2 separate regions of the Homo sapiens genome follow, and region 2 is linked to region 1. Evidence: promoter capture Hi-C in human tissues and cell types (Jung and others, 2019). All regions are on one chromosome and are shown on one strand. The core of a region is centred on a gene start or on the middle of the fragment in contact, and the rest is flanking DNA. Distances in the headings are between cores, read along the strand shown.

What was found. Contacts are between HindIII fragments. The study calls those that stand out against the background at their distance.
Region 2: a contact is called between a fragment that was not itself captured here and the fragment with the promoter of RCOR1 in region 1, in 1 of the 25 tissues and cell types used here (aorta).

The regions. Positions count from the first base shown.
Region 1 is chr14:102,587,462-102,593,898 of GRCh38, forward strand. RCOR1 (REST corepressor 1) reads left to right here and starts at 5,188. Exons shown (of 12, transcript NM_015156.4): 1 at 5,188-5,726; 2 at 5,805-5,864. The coding sequence starts at 5,426. RefSeq lists enhancers at 3,460-3,509, 3,791-4,606 and silencers at 4,185-5,494, 5,555-6,164. The HindIII fragment of the contact is 11,930 bases long and covers 1-6,437 here.
Region 2 is chr14:103,661,824-103,668,260 of GRCh38, forward strand. It overlaps KLC1 (kinesin light chain 1), which reads left to right. Exons shown (of 17, transcript NM_001394837.1): 4 at 293-371; 5 at 879-1,104. Among named protein-coding and RNA genes, the nearest start is that of KLC1, 36 kb to the left of the region's middle. The HindIII fragment of the contact is 4,198 bases long and covers 685-4,882 here.

The DNA of each region.
Region 1 (6,437 bases), core at 3,938-6,437:
GATGGCCTTGATCTTCTGACCTCGTGATCTGCCCGCTTTGGCCTCCCAAAGTGCTGGGATTACAGGCGTAAGCCACCGCATCCAGCCACAGCTAATCTTTTTTTTGTTTGTTTTTTTGAGACGGAGTTTTTGCTCGTTGCCCAGGCTGGAGTGCAATGGCGCAATCTCTGCTCACTGCAACCTCCGCCTCCTGTATTCATGTGATTCTCCTGCCTCAGCCTCCCGAGTAGCTGGGATTACAGGAGCCTGCCACCATCTGCAGCAAAATTTTTATCTGTAGGAGAGACGCGGTTTCTCCATGTTGGTTAGGCTGGTCTCGAACTCCCGACCTCAGGTGATCCATCCGCTTCAGCCTCCCAAAGTGCTGGGATTACAGGCGTAAGCCACCATGCTCACCCACACAAGTTTTAATTTTTATGAATTCCAATTTTTCTCTTTTGTTCCTTATCCTTTTGGCATCGTAATCAAGAAGACTTTGCCTACCTCATGGTCACAGAGATTTAGGTTTTCATCTGACAGTTTTATAGTTTTACAATTAGGTCTTACAATTAGGTCTACGATTTACTTGCTTAGTTATTAACATATTAAGTAACAAGTTCTAGCAGTGGGTCTAATAACTTCTGTGATTTTGGAGACGAGTATACGTGCTATTTTGAGGCTGGGCGCGGTGGCTCATGCCTGTAATCCCAGCACTTTGGGAGGCCAAGGTGGGCGGATCACGACGTCAGGAGTTCGACACCAGTCTGGCCAACATGGTGAAACCCCATCTCTACTAAAAACACAAAAATTAGCTGGGCGTGGTGGTGGGTGCCTGTGATCCCAGCTACTCAGAGCCTGAGGGAGGAAAATAGTTGGAACCCGGGAGGTTGCACTGAGCTGAGATCATGCCACTGCACTCCAGCCTGGGCGACAGAACAAGACTCTGTCTCAAAAAATAAAATAAAAATAAAATAAATAAATAAATGCTATTTTGAGATATTTCCAGTGACTGCAATGTGTTGAGATGGAATATCACCTACATTCATAAGTGAAGAAAATGCTGGATTTTGGTTAAAGGTTGATTTTTTTTTTGAGACAGGGGTCTTGCTGGAGGCCTCAAAGTACCTGGGATTATAAGTGAGTGCCACCGCACTTGGTGTTAAAGGTTAATTTAAATAAAGATGTATTTACCAGCTCTGGTTCATGGTCTCCAGAATTCTATCCATGGATTCCAGGTTCAGAACTCTTAGGATGGCTAAAATTCCAGCCTGAAGTCTCAGTTTTCCAATAGTCCTTTGGGGGCTTGAAACCTCCCAGGAATGGCTTTAGGGTGTTTTCCTGACACTTCCCAGCCCTGGCCCATACCCTGCCCTCTGCCTGGCTCCATTCTTGGGAAAGGAATTCCTTGCCAAACAGAATTTTCTAACAAGCCCAAATATAGTAATAATAATAATTAGCAGCAGGAAGAACTATAAACACTGGGGTAGGAAAGCCTGTACCCGTCTCTCCTTTTCCTGATCCCTTCCCTTCATTCCTGAACTGAAGGAGACGGAGCCCCTTTGGGCTTTGATGACTCCATCACTGGGGTATGTTCATTTGATGGTTGATTTTGCTGTACCAGGTACTTCCTTTCCCATTTTCTAATCATTTTATAACACATGCTGACTCTTTTCCCTTCCCTTTTTCTGGGAAAATACAATGAATACAAAATTATAAACACTGTATGTTTAGCATCAGACCAAGCATGTTGCAGACACCCTTGCCCCTGGCCGTCCCAGAATCCCTGGGGCAACTCTGGCCTTGGTTAAGAGGCTCCATAGCTCCTGGCTTAGCTGTGCCCCGGCTCCTCCCCTCATATCATGCCTGATCCTAGGAAGATATTTCACTTCTGGGTGCCTCAGCTTTCTCATCTATAAGGGTGGGGTATGAGATGGTCATGGTCATAGTTTTTGTTTTTTTTTAGGGTGGGGGGACGAGATGGTCATAGGGTCACAGTTTTTTTTTTTGTTTTTGTTTTATACAGACGGGATCTCGCTATGTCACCGGGCGCCATGGCTCAAGCCTGTAATCCCAGCACTTTGGAAGTCCGAGGCGGGCGGATCACGAGGCCAGGAGTTCAAGACCAGCCTGGCCAATATGGTGAAACCCCGTCTCTACTAAAAATACAAAAATTAGCCGGGTGTAGTGGCGGGTGCCTGTAATCTTAGCTACTCGGGAGGCTGAGGCAGAGGTTGCAGTGAGCCCAGATCGTGCCACTGGACTCCAGCCTGGGCGACAGAGTGAGACTCTGGATAAAAAAAAAATTAATGAAAGGAAAAAGGCAAGGAGGAATCCCAACGATGACAGGTTGAAAGCTGCAGAGGAGACTGATGGGGAGTGACCTGTGAGGTAGCAGGACCAGGTGAACTGGAATCCCCAGGTCCAGATAAGTGAGGGTTTCCAGGAGGAGGAGTGGTCGACTCAGCTGCTGCTGAGAAGCTCAGCGAGACCAAGAAGTGACCCCCGGATTGGGCAGCGGAGAGGTTGTAGGTTACCTTAGCAGCAGTTAAGGGGTGGGGACACAGCCCTGCTGGATGGGGTGATGAGAGGCTGGGACGGGAAGGGGTGGAGGAGGTGAGTGTAGGGAAGTCTACAGAAATGTCTGAAGGGAGGGAGAAATGGCCAGAGGCAGGAGAGGGTTTGGGGGCAGGAGTCGGTCCAGAGTGAGGCTGATGGCACAGAAAAGCCTCGAGGGGAGGGCAGCGGGATGGGGTCCTAGGCCTGAGGAGGACGTGAGTACCCGACAGGGAAGTTTGTCTGTTTGGGTACTGGGAGAGGAGAAAGATCCTGAAGGCTTTCGTTTTTCTCTGAAGAATGAGGTAAGGCCACGGGCTAGGAGCCCAGGCAGAAGGGGCTGTGGGAGGTGTAAGGAGAGGGGAGCAGGCATGAGGTCTCACTTTCAGAGTGGGAGTCTCACCGAAAAACATGATAGGGCTGCCGGCTTTGTGGATGCGTTAGAAGTGTGGGATCACAAATTCCCAATCCCAGGGCTGTGTGTGGAGCCCTCTCCCCAAGCGATGGGAAGGCGAGTGTCCTTAACGTTGGGGTTCCCTATGCTGGAAGGATGGACTCTATTACAGTCCATCAGGCCAGGAGGTAGGTACTGTTTCCTGTATTTTACGGTTGGTAAATCTGAGAGCTTCAGGCCAATACAGTATCGGTGTAGCATTAGGGTCAGACAAAATAGAACAGGGCCCGGCACATATTAAGTGTTAATATTCGTTGGAAAAAAAAAAAAAAGAATGCTTGTCAAGTCCACTGCTGCGCCCCTACTGGTAGCCCAGCCTGGCCTCAGCCTTGGGGGCTGGTGGGTGGAGAGGGCGGCCTTGTGTGCTCTGCTATCCCTATTGCCTTAATGACCCAGTATCACCTTTGTGCCCTTGTAGGTTGATCCTTCTAGTCTCGTGGCAGAACTTTGTAGACACCAAGCGAGCGGGGCAGCGTGTTCTGGACCTCATTCCTCACACAGGGCTCACCTCCGGATGAGTCAGAGGCCTTAGCCGGTGGCCCAGCCCCGGGAATGCCACCCCGGTTCTGTACCCTGCCCAGGCCAGCTGACAGGGTGTATTGGGGCACACACCTGCAGCATCCAGGGCACTCCAAGGAGAGGGACGTACTTTTGAGGAGAGTCTAAAAGTCTAAGTCCCCCACCTGAACTTGGTGGGGGAAGGGCTTCTATACCAGGAGGGCTCCCAGCCCTGTTTCTTAAAGGCCATTTAGGCAGAAGTGAACGTGGTCTCTTCAATAAAGTTAATAATGGTTCATGCTGCAGAAAATGTTCAAGACAAAACCCTGCTTATTTACTCAGGCTTTAAAACCATAAAACTCCCAAATTCTCCCTGTAGCTATTTATATCCAGAGCTAGTCCCCAAATTAAGCTCAGGTTTGAAGTAACTTAAAAGAAAAATAGCCTTCCCTGCTTTAAAAAGATTTTCCGTATAGACCTCCACTGGTCTAATTACGAAGGGCGCGTAGTTTCAGGGTTGGCTGGGGGTAGGGCACCGGGACCTCCAAGGCAGTTACACTCCTCAGCCTCCTAACAGCTGTACGGCTGCCCGGTGGTCCCTCTCCAAGGCAGCGGCTCTCAGGCTAGCCTCAGCCTACCCCACCCGCCCGCACCCCGTGTTCTCCCTCGTGGGGGTGCCGGGGGGAGTAGGGAGGCGGGGCGGGCGGCAGGTCCGGAAAAGTGGCTGCCCTCGCCCCGAAAGAAGTTGACCCTCCTCCCGTGCCGAGAGCTTGGGATGAAAATAGCTTCTTCCTCTTTACCCTTCCTGGACCCCCGCCCCAGGACGACTGGGCCCCTTCATTCATCTTTCAGCGGCCACCCAGGCGGCTTGGGCGTCCCCACGCCGGGACTCTGTGCCCCGGGGACCCACGGGGACCCTCCCTTGGGCCTCTGAAGCCGCGGCGCACCCCGCACCCAAGCCACCCCGGGGGCCCCGGCCTCCCCCACCCAATTAGCGGGCAGCACCGCAGACCCGAGTCCCCACGCAGCTCGCGCCAGGGGAGGCGGCCGCCTGGGAAGCCCGTCCCCCGCGCCGCGGCCCCCGCCCCCGCCAGCCCCGCGTCCCCTGGGAAAGGCGGGGGCGCAGCGAGTTTCCCCCAATTAGTTTCCTCTTTGTATGGAGTCTTAGCGCGCCCGTACTCCTCCGCGCAGCGGAAAGTAGTCCCGGCCGGGCGCTCCGCGGCTTCCCAGCGCCAGACACATTTTACTTTGAGAAGTCGACGGGACTCTCAGCGGGGTCCTTCAGATGGGGGGCCAGAGGCTGCGGGAGGCGTGCGCGGGCAGCAAGGGCAGGGGCCGCGGCCAAGGGTAGGGGGCGGGGAGGGCCGCGAACTCCTCGCCGCTGCCTGGAGAGATGGATCATGGGGCGTAGGGAGATGGCAAACCTCAAACCACGTACGGCGGGCGATACGCGTCAACCGAACCTCGCCAACGGAAGCCCGGAGCCGCCCCTCCCCGCTCCCCCGCCCCGCCGCCCCGGACGGACGGGCGCGCGGAGCCAACCCCGCTGCCGCTGGCTGTCCAAATCCCACCAGAGCCAATGGGAGCGCGAGGGGGGGCGGAGCCATCTCGCGTCAGTTGGGCTGCGCGCCCCCCTCCCCCGGCGCCCCTGCAGGCCCCGCCCCTGCCTCCTCCCCTCTCCGCTCGCTGCTCCCGGAGTAGTTGGTGCCAGTGAAGTGAGGGCGGCGATGAGAGCGAAAGTTGCGCTCGGCTCGTCGCTGGGGGCTTGAAGCGGCTCCGCGCTCTGCCCGTTTGGGCCTCCCCCGACTCGGACTCGCGCCCGTGGGCTCCCGCCGCGCCCGCCCGGCCCCGCGCCGGCCCCGCGCCCCCTCCCCCGTCTCGGCGCCCCCTCCTCAGGAGCCGCGGGTCCCCGCCACTTTCGCACGGCCCCGGCCCCCGCCGATGCCGGCCATGGTGGAGAAGGGCCCCGAGGTCTCAGGGAAGCGGAGAGGGAGGAACAACGCGGCCGCCTCCGCCTCCGCCGCCGCCGCCTCCGCCGCCGCCTCGGCCGCCTGCGCCTCGCCAGCCGCCACTGCCGCCTCGGGCGCCGCCGCCTCCTCAGCCTCGGCCGCCGCCGCCTCAGCCGCCGCCGCCCCCAATAATGGCCAGAATAAAAGTTTGGCGGCGGCGGCGCCCAATGGCAACAGCAGCAGCAACTCCTGGGAGGAAGGCAGCTCGGGCTCGTCCAGCGACGAGGAGCACGGTAGGTGGCAGCCGCCCCCGCGGCCCCGGGCCCCGCGCCCCGCGCCGCGCTGACCGCCGTATTCTGCTTCCCCCGCAGGTGGCGGTGGCATGAGGGTCGGACCCCAGTACCAGGCGGTGGTGCCCGACTTCGACCCCGGTGAGTAGCGGCCCCGGCCGGCCGGCGGCGGGGATGAGCGGGAGCCCCGGGTCCCCGGCGAGCCCGAGGGGGCGGGAGCCCGCCGACAACTTTCTTTTTGTGCGTTCGCCCTGCCGTCCGTGGGGAGAACAGCAGGGCGAGGACGAGGAGGCGCACACGCACACGAGTGTTCTGCAAACGTGCCTCTGCACCCGGGGGAGGCCAGGTCGCCCCCAGCAGGGCCGGCGCCGCTGCCCCCTTGCGCCTCCGAGGACTGCGGGTGGCGTCGGAGGTGGCCACACCTGGCCTGGGGGCGCTGGGGGTCCCTGCGTCCAGGTGAGCTGCGCCTCGGCCAGGGGTAAGGGTGGCAGTGCCGGAGAGTTAGTGTCCTGCGAGCGCCCCGGACTTAGGAGGTCCCCAGAGACCCCTTTCTCGGAACCCTTCCCAAAGGCTGCTCCCCACGCCTTTGCTCCTCCTCTCAGCCTCTGGGCTCTTGCTGGCTCCTGACTGCCCTCCCATCCAGAAGGCGAGTAGAAGAACGACCCCCCAAAACCAGTCAATAAAAGAAGTGTGTTTTCCAGAGGGCGCCTGCCT
Region 2 (6,437 bases), core at 1,534-4,033, 1.1 Mb after region 1:
CTAGACCTCCCTCAAAGCGCGGGAGAAGGATCTGAGGCATGAAATGCAGCCATGGCCCATTTCGTCAAACTGTGGTCTGCACTCAAGTATTTGTATTCTAGTCTAAAAAGCTTTTCATTACTCCTGTTCAACTGATGGATAAGCCAGATTGTCGGCGATCCTACATTTGATGTTAAAAACTGATCATCTTTTCTAAGATTCTTAGTTAAAATGTATTTAATATTAAAAATTTTCAGGACAGGATGTGTATAGCACGTGTAAGATGAAGTGTTGTCCTGGGTCTGTTTTATAGGAGGACAAAGACACTGATTCTACCAAAGAGCCTCTGGATGACCTTTTCCCCAATGATGAAGACGACCCAGGGCAAGGAAGTGAGTGATGGGTGATGCAGGCATGTTACCGAGTGCAGAAGAGAGGTGTTCCTCCTAGAACACGGTCATAGCAATCAGTGGCAGCCTTAGTGCATGCGGCCTGCCTGGAGGAAGCACCACCAGAGCGGGGTTGCCTTTGGTTTTCCAAAATAATCTGTGTTGTGATACGGGAATATGCTAGAGCAGACCCTAGGATACAGCGGCATGCACGTGCAGTTCAGGCGTGGTCTGCAGATTCTTACAGGGTGAAGAGGTCAGAATTACTTATCCTGCTTGTTTCATGGCGCCAAGAGGAGTCTCATGGCACTGAGTGGCCATGTTGCCATCCCTGACACTGTAGTCACTACTCTTACCCTGCCTGCCCAGACAGTACTAGGAAAAGATTTAAATAGCACTGGGGGCCAAGTACTAACTTGAACCAAAGTTAGTAAAGATAATTTTAAAGAAACTGACTCATCTGGATAATTGTCTTTAAAAACCCATCTGAAGTGAACTTTCTCGGTGCAGTCCAGCAGCAGCACAGCAGTGCAGCCGCGGCTGCCCAGCAGGGCGGCTACGAGATCCCCGCGCGGCTGCGGACGCTCCACAACCTGGTGATCCAGTACGCCTCGCAGGGGCGCTACGAGGTAGCTGTGCCCCTCTGCAAGCAGGCCCTGGAGGACCTGGAGAAGACTTCAGGACACGACCACCCGGACGTGGCCACCATGCTCAACATCCTGGCCTTGGTGTACAGGCTAGTCACTTTTGTTTACCTACTGAATTTTACCTAGAGACAATGTTTTTAACCATCTTGCCCCTTAAAATATATTTTTATGTATCTGTATAAACTATTTTTCAACCATATCCACTTCTCTTTAAACAGGGGTTAAATTAAAAATATTTAGCAAGCTTTTTTTTTTTTTTGAGACGGAGTCTCGTTCTGTCACCCAGGCTGGAGTGCCGGGGTGTGATCTCGGTTCACTGCAAGCTCCGCCTCCCGGGTTCACGCCATTCTCCTGCCTCAGCCTCCCGAGTAGCTGGGACTTCAGGCACCCGCCACCATGCCTGGCTAATTTTTTTGTATTTTTAGTAAAGACGGGGTTTCATCGTGTTAACCAGGATGGTCTCGATCTCCTGACCTCGTGATCCGCCCGCCTCAGCCTCCCAAAACGCTGGGATTACAGGCGTGAGCCACCGCGCCCGGCCTATTTAGCAAGCTTTGTGGAAGGGTGTCACTGAATCAGAAGAACAGATGCTGCCCGTGACCACTCAGTTCAGCTTGTTTAGAATAGACCACAGTGTACCCCTAACGCCAGCCAAACGAAGCTGTTTTGACCTTTTCCACAAGACCCTGTGCAGGCGGCTTCTTTTGTCTAAATAGCCTTCCCACTTGGCCTGGCGGTGTCTTCCTGCCTTCTGAGGCCTGGTGCGCTGTGCCTCCTTTTGGAATCCGGGATTCAACTTGCCCTTTGCCCCTTGTGTGCTCCCCGAACCCTTTCACCCCTGTTGAAGGACGCCCCGGGGGAGTGGTGGGCTCTCAGTTGTGTGGTAGAAGAGTTCCTTTGGCTCAGTGCCTAGGATGCAGTTGGGGGCTGGAGCCGGAGGCAGGGTGTCCTGTTGGGACAGGATTGAGGTTGTCGGGGTGGGGCGAGGGGAACCTGAGCAAGGAGGAGGACGTGGAGGAAGAGGAGAGTACAGGGCCTAATGACGCTTGAAGAGAAATGCGGTGATATGACTACCCACACGCATAAGTGATTTCTTTAAAAATAAGTTTTGAAAGTTGATAAAATAAAAACACACAAATAAGAAAGTAAGCCCCCTGTTATAACAACACTATTTAAAATGAGGCCGTTCCCTTTGGCTCTGTAGTTTGTCAGCAGCTTGGTCTGCCCCATGACTATGCAGCAGGGTTTCGTGGACATTCTGGACATTTTTTGACTGTTTTCCTGTTGGTGAATGTTGAGATTGTTTGCATATTTTCTTTTTTCTTTTTTTTGAGACAGAGTCTGGCTCTGTCACCCAGGCTGGAGTGCAGTGGTGCAATCTCAGCTCACCGCAACCTCTGCTTCCTGAGTTCAAGTGATTCTCCTGCTTCAGCCTCCTGAGTAGCTGGGATTACAGGCATGCGCCACCATGCCTGGCTAACTTCTGTATTTTTAGTAGAGACGGGGTTTCACCATGTTGGCCAGGCTGGTCTCAAACTCCTGACCTCAAGTGATCCTTCTGTCTCGGCCTCCCAAAGTGCTGGGATTACAGGCATGAGCCACTGTGCCTGGCCAATTGTTTGCATATTTCACTGCAGGAATTTCTTAGTCAGAGATATTTGCATTTAGCTCTTAATTAGATTGAGACATTTCATTGCAAAAAAATTTTTTTTTTGAGATAGGGTCTTGCTCAGTGATGCGATCATGGGTCATTGCAACCTCTGACTCCTGGCCTCAAGCAATCTTCCTGCCTCACCTTCCTGAGTAGCTGGGACCACAGGCATGCACCACTACACCCAGCTAAATTTTATATATTTCATAGAGACAGCGTTTTGCCATGTTGCCCAGGCTGGTCTCGAACTCCTGGGCTTAAGTGATCTGCTCAGCTCGGTACCCCATAGTGCTAGGATTACAGGCGTGAACCACTGCACTTGGCCAAGGCTTTTTTTTTTTTTTTTTTTTTTTTAAACTTATATGCCCATTAAAACATATGGAAGTTTCTGGACAGCACTGGATATTATTAATATAAATGAGTTAAGTAAGCATAACTAGGTTTTTGTTGTGCACAGCGTGCATGGGCACACACATCACTGCTGGGTGCTGGGGATGCCATGGCCTCTGTCAGTCTTGTGTTTTTCCCTAGCATTATAGTGTGAGAGTTGACCCACGTGCGTAGATGTTTGGGAAAAAAATAGTAGCTACATATGTATTCATATTCAGTATTCTACCTTTCAGCTTGTTATTTCATCATTCTTGTATTAAGGGACACATAATTTTAAGCTTTTTTTTTTTGCCTTTAATATTTTACTGATCTTTATAAGGTTTGTTCAAGATTTTGGATTGATTGATTGGTTGTAGAGATGGAGTCTCACCATGTTGCTCAGGCTGGTCTCAAACTCCTGGGCTCCAAATGATCCTCCACCTTGACGTCCCAAAGTGCTGGGATTATAGGTGTGAGCTGCGAGGTACCACGCCTGGCCAGGATGGATTGATTGATTTCTTTTCTTTCTTTCTGTCTGTCTGTCTGTCTTTCTGTCTTGTCTTGTCTTGTCCTGTCCTGTCCTGTCTTGTGTCTTGATGGAGTTTTGCTCTTGTCGCCCAGGCTAGAGTGCAGTGGAGTGATCTCAGCTCACTGCAACCTCAGCCTCTGGAGTTCAACCATTTCTCCTGCCTCAGCCTCCCAAGTAGCTGGGATTACAGACACCTGCCACCAAGCCCCGCTAATTTTTTGTATTTTTTAGTAGAGACAGTGTTTTGTCATGTTGGCCAGGCTGGTCTCAAAACTCCTGACCTCAGGTGATCCACCCTCCTTGGCCTCCCAAAGTGCTAGGATTACAGGTGTGAGCCACTGTGCCCAGCCATGTATTTCTTTTTTTAGGATAAATTCCTAAGACGGGTTAGAGTATAAACATTTTATAGTCCTTGGTACCTGCTGCCAAACTGCCACTCAGAAAGGCTGTGTCTGCCCATGCTTCTGCCGCACAGGCGCCACCCTGGAGGTGGGGGGCTCTATTCCGTTGGTGGAGATAGAGTATGCATTGTGTTTTAATTTGTATTTCTTTGATTATGTATTTTTAGTCATTTGTATCCTTCTGTGAATTTCCTGTTACCTTGCACATTTTTCTGTTAGGATTTTAATGCTTTAGTATTCTATGTTTGTTTTCTTTTGAATTTGAGTTCTTGGTGGGCTTCTTTTTGTTTTTTTTGAGACGGAGTCTCGCTGTCACCCAGGCTGGAGTGCAGTGGCGTTGTCTGGGCTCACTGCAAGCTCCGCCTCCCGGGTTCACGCCATTCTCCTGCCTCAGCCTCCCGAGTAGCTGGGACTACAGGCGCCTGCCACCGCGCCCGGCTAATTTTTTGTATTTTTAGTAGAGACGGAGTTTCACCATGTTAGCCAGGATGGTCTTGATCTCCTGACCTTGTGATCCACCCGCCTTGGCCTCCCAAAGTGCTGGGATTACAGGCATGAGCCACCGTGCCCGGCCCTTGGTGGGCTTCTTAAACCCACTTGATTTAACAAATCACAGTGTGCTAGTCCCACTCCCAGAGTTTCTGATTCAGCAGGGCTAGGGTAGTCTGGGTTTCTAATAAGTTCCAGTTGAGGCTGACTGCTGTTGGTTTGGGACCACACCGGAGAACCACTGCTAACTAATAGTCCCAGACATTTTATAATATGTCATCGTTTACAGAAGTGTTTAATATACCTCATCTCATTTAATTCTTTTTTTTTTTTTTCTGAAACGAAGTCTTGCTCTTGTACCCCTGGCTGGAGTGCAATGGTGTGATCTCAGCTCACTGCAACCTCTGCCTCCCGGGTTGAGGCGATTCCACCCACCCCGGCCTCCCAAAGTGCTGGGATTACAGGCGTGAGCCACCGTGCCTGGCCATTTTTTTTCTTTCTTTTTTTTTTTTTTTTTGATACGGAGTCTTGCTCTGTCGCCCGGGCTGGCATGCAATGGCATCATCTTGGCTCATTGCAACCTCTGCCTCCCAGGTTCAAGCGATTCTCCTGCCTCAGCCTCCCTAGTAGTTGGGATTACAGGTGCCCGCCAGCATGCCCAGCTAATTTTTTTTATTTTTAGTAGAGACAGGGTCTTATCATTCTTGGTCAGGCTGGTCTCAAACTCCTGACCTCAGGTGACCCACCCGCCTTAGCCTCGCAAAGTGTTGGGATTACAGGCGTGAGCCACCATGTCCGGCCTCATTTAATTCTCATAACACTTTAGGTAGCTTATTTTATTTTATTTTTTTTACACGGAGTTTCACTCTTGTTGGCCAGGCTGGAGTGCAATGGCACAATCTCAGCTCACTGCAACCTCTGCCTCCTGGGTTCAAGCGATTCTTCTGCCTCAGGCTCCCGAGTAGCTGGGATTACAGGTGCCTGCCACCACACCCAGCTAATTTTTGTATTTTTAGTAGAGACAGGGTCTTGCTATGTTGGTTGATCTTGAACTCCTGACCTCGGGTGATCTACCCGCCTCAGCCTCCCAGAGTGCTGGGATTACAGGCGTGAGCCACCGTGCCCAGCCTTGGTAGCTTATTTTTAAATTGCATTTGCTACAATTCTCCTGCCTCAGCCTCCCGAGTAGCTGGGACTACAGGTGCATGTCGCCAGGCCTGGCTAATTTTTTGTATTTTAGTAGAGATGGGGTTTCACTGTGTTGCCCAGGCTTGTCTTGAACTCCTGAGCTCAGGCAGTCTGCCCGCCTCAGCCTCCCAAAGTGCTAGGATTGCAGGTGTGAGCCACCGCACCTGGCCACTACTTTTTGGAACTCTATTTTGTACTTGCTGACTTTCACAAAAAGTTTGAGGCAGCTTACAATAGGATGTAATAGGATGAAAGAAGAAACAACAATATATTAATACGTGGCCAGAATTAGTGTGCTTCAGAGGTTGTAGAAGCCTTATTAACCTTTCTCACGTTTTTCAGGGGAAAGCCTTGCCAGGCAGTTACTACTACTCAATTGAGAAAGATGTGTGCTAAGTCTCAAAAGCAAGTACTTGTTCTCAGTCACATCAGTAGTGAGTAGCACGCTTAAACTGAGAGTTTCTGGTTCTGGGGTGTTTCTGTTTTACTCCAATCAAGAAAGATTCTTCGTTCCTCCATACTCAACAAAATGGAGGGAGACTGGGTACCAAGTTCAGACACAACAATATATTTACTTTTGTTTGTTGTTTTTTAAAATATTTTTTCAGTATACATGTAGCATATCATCTTCTTACAGCAAGACTGTGCAATAGATCATATACTTGCTTTGTAGATGGGAAGGCTGGGACTGCGTGAGGTCACGTAATGCACCCAAAGCCATGTAGCCATTAACTGGTAGAGCCCAAGCTCAGACACTAGAATTAATTCTGTCTGAAACCAAATGCAAGCTTGGTC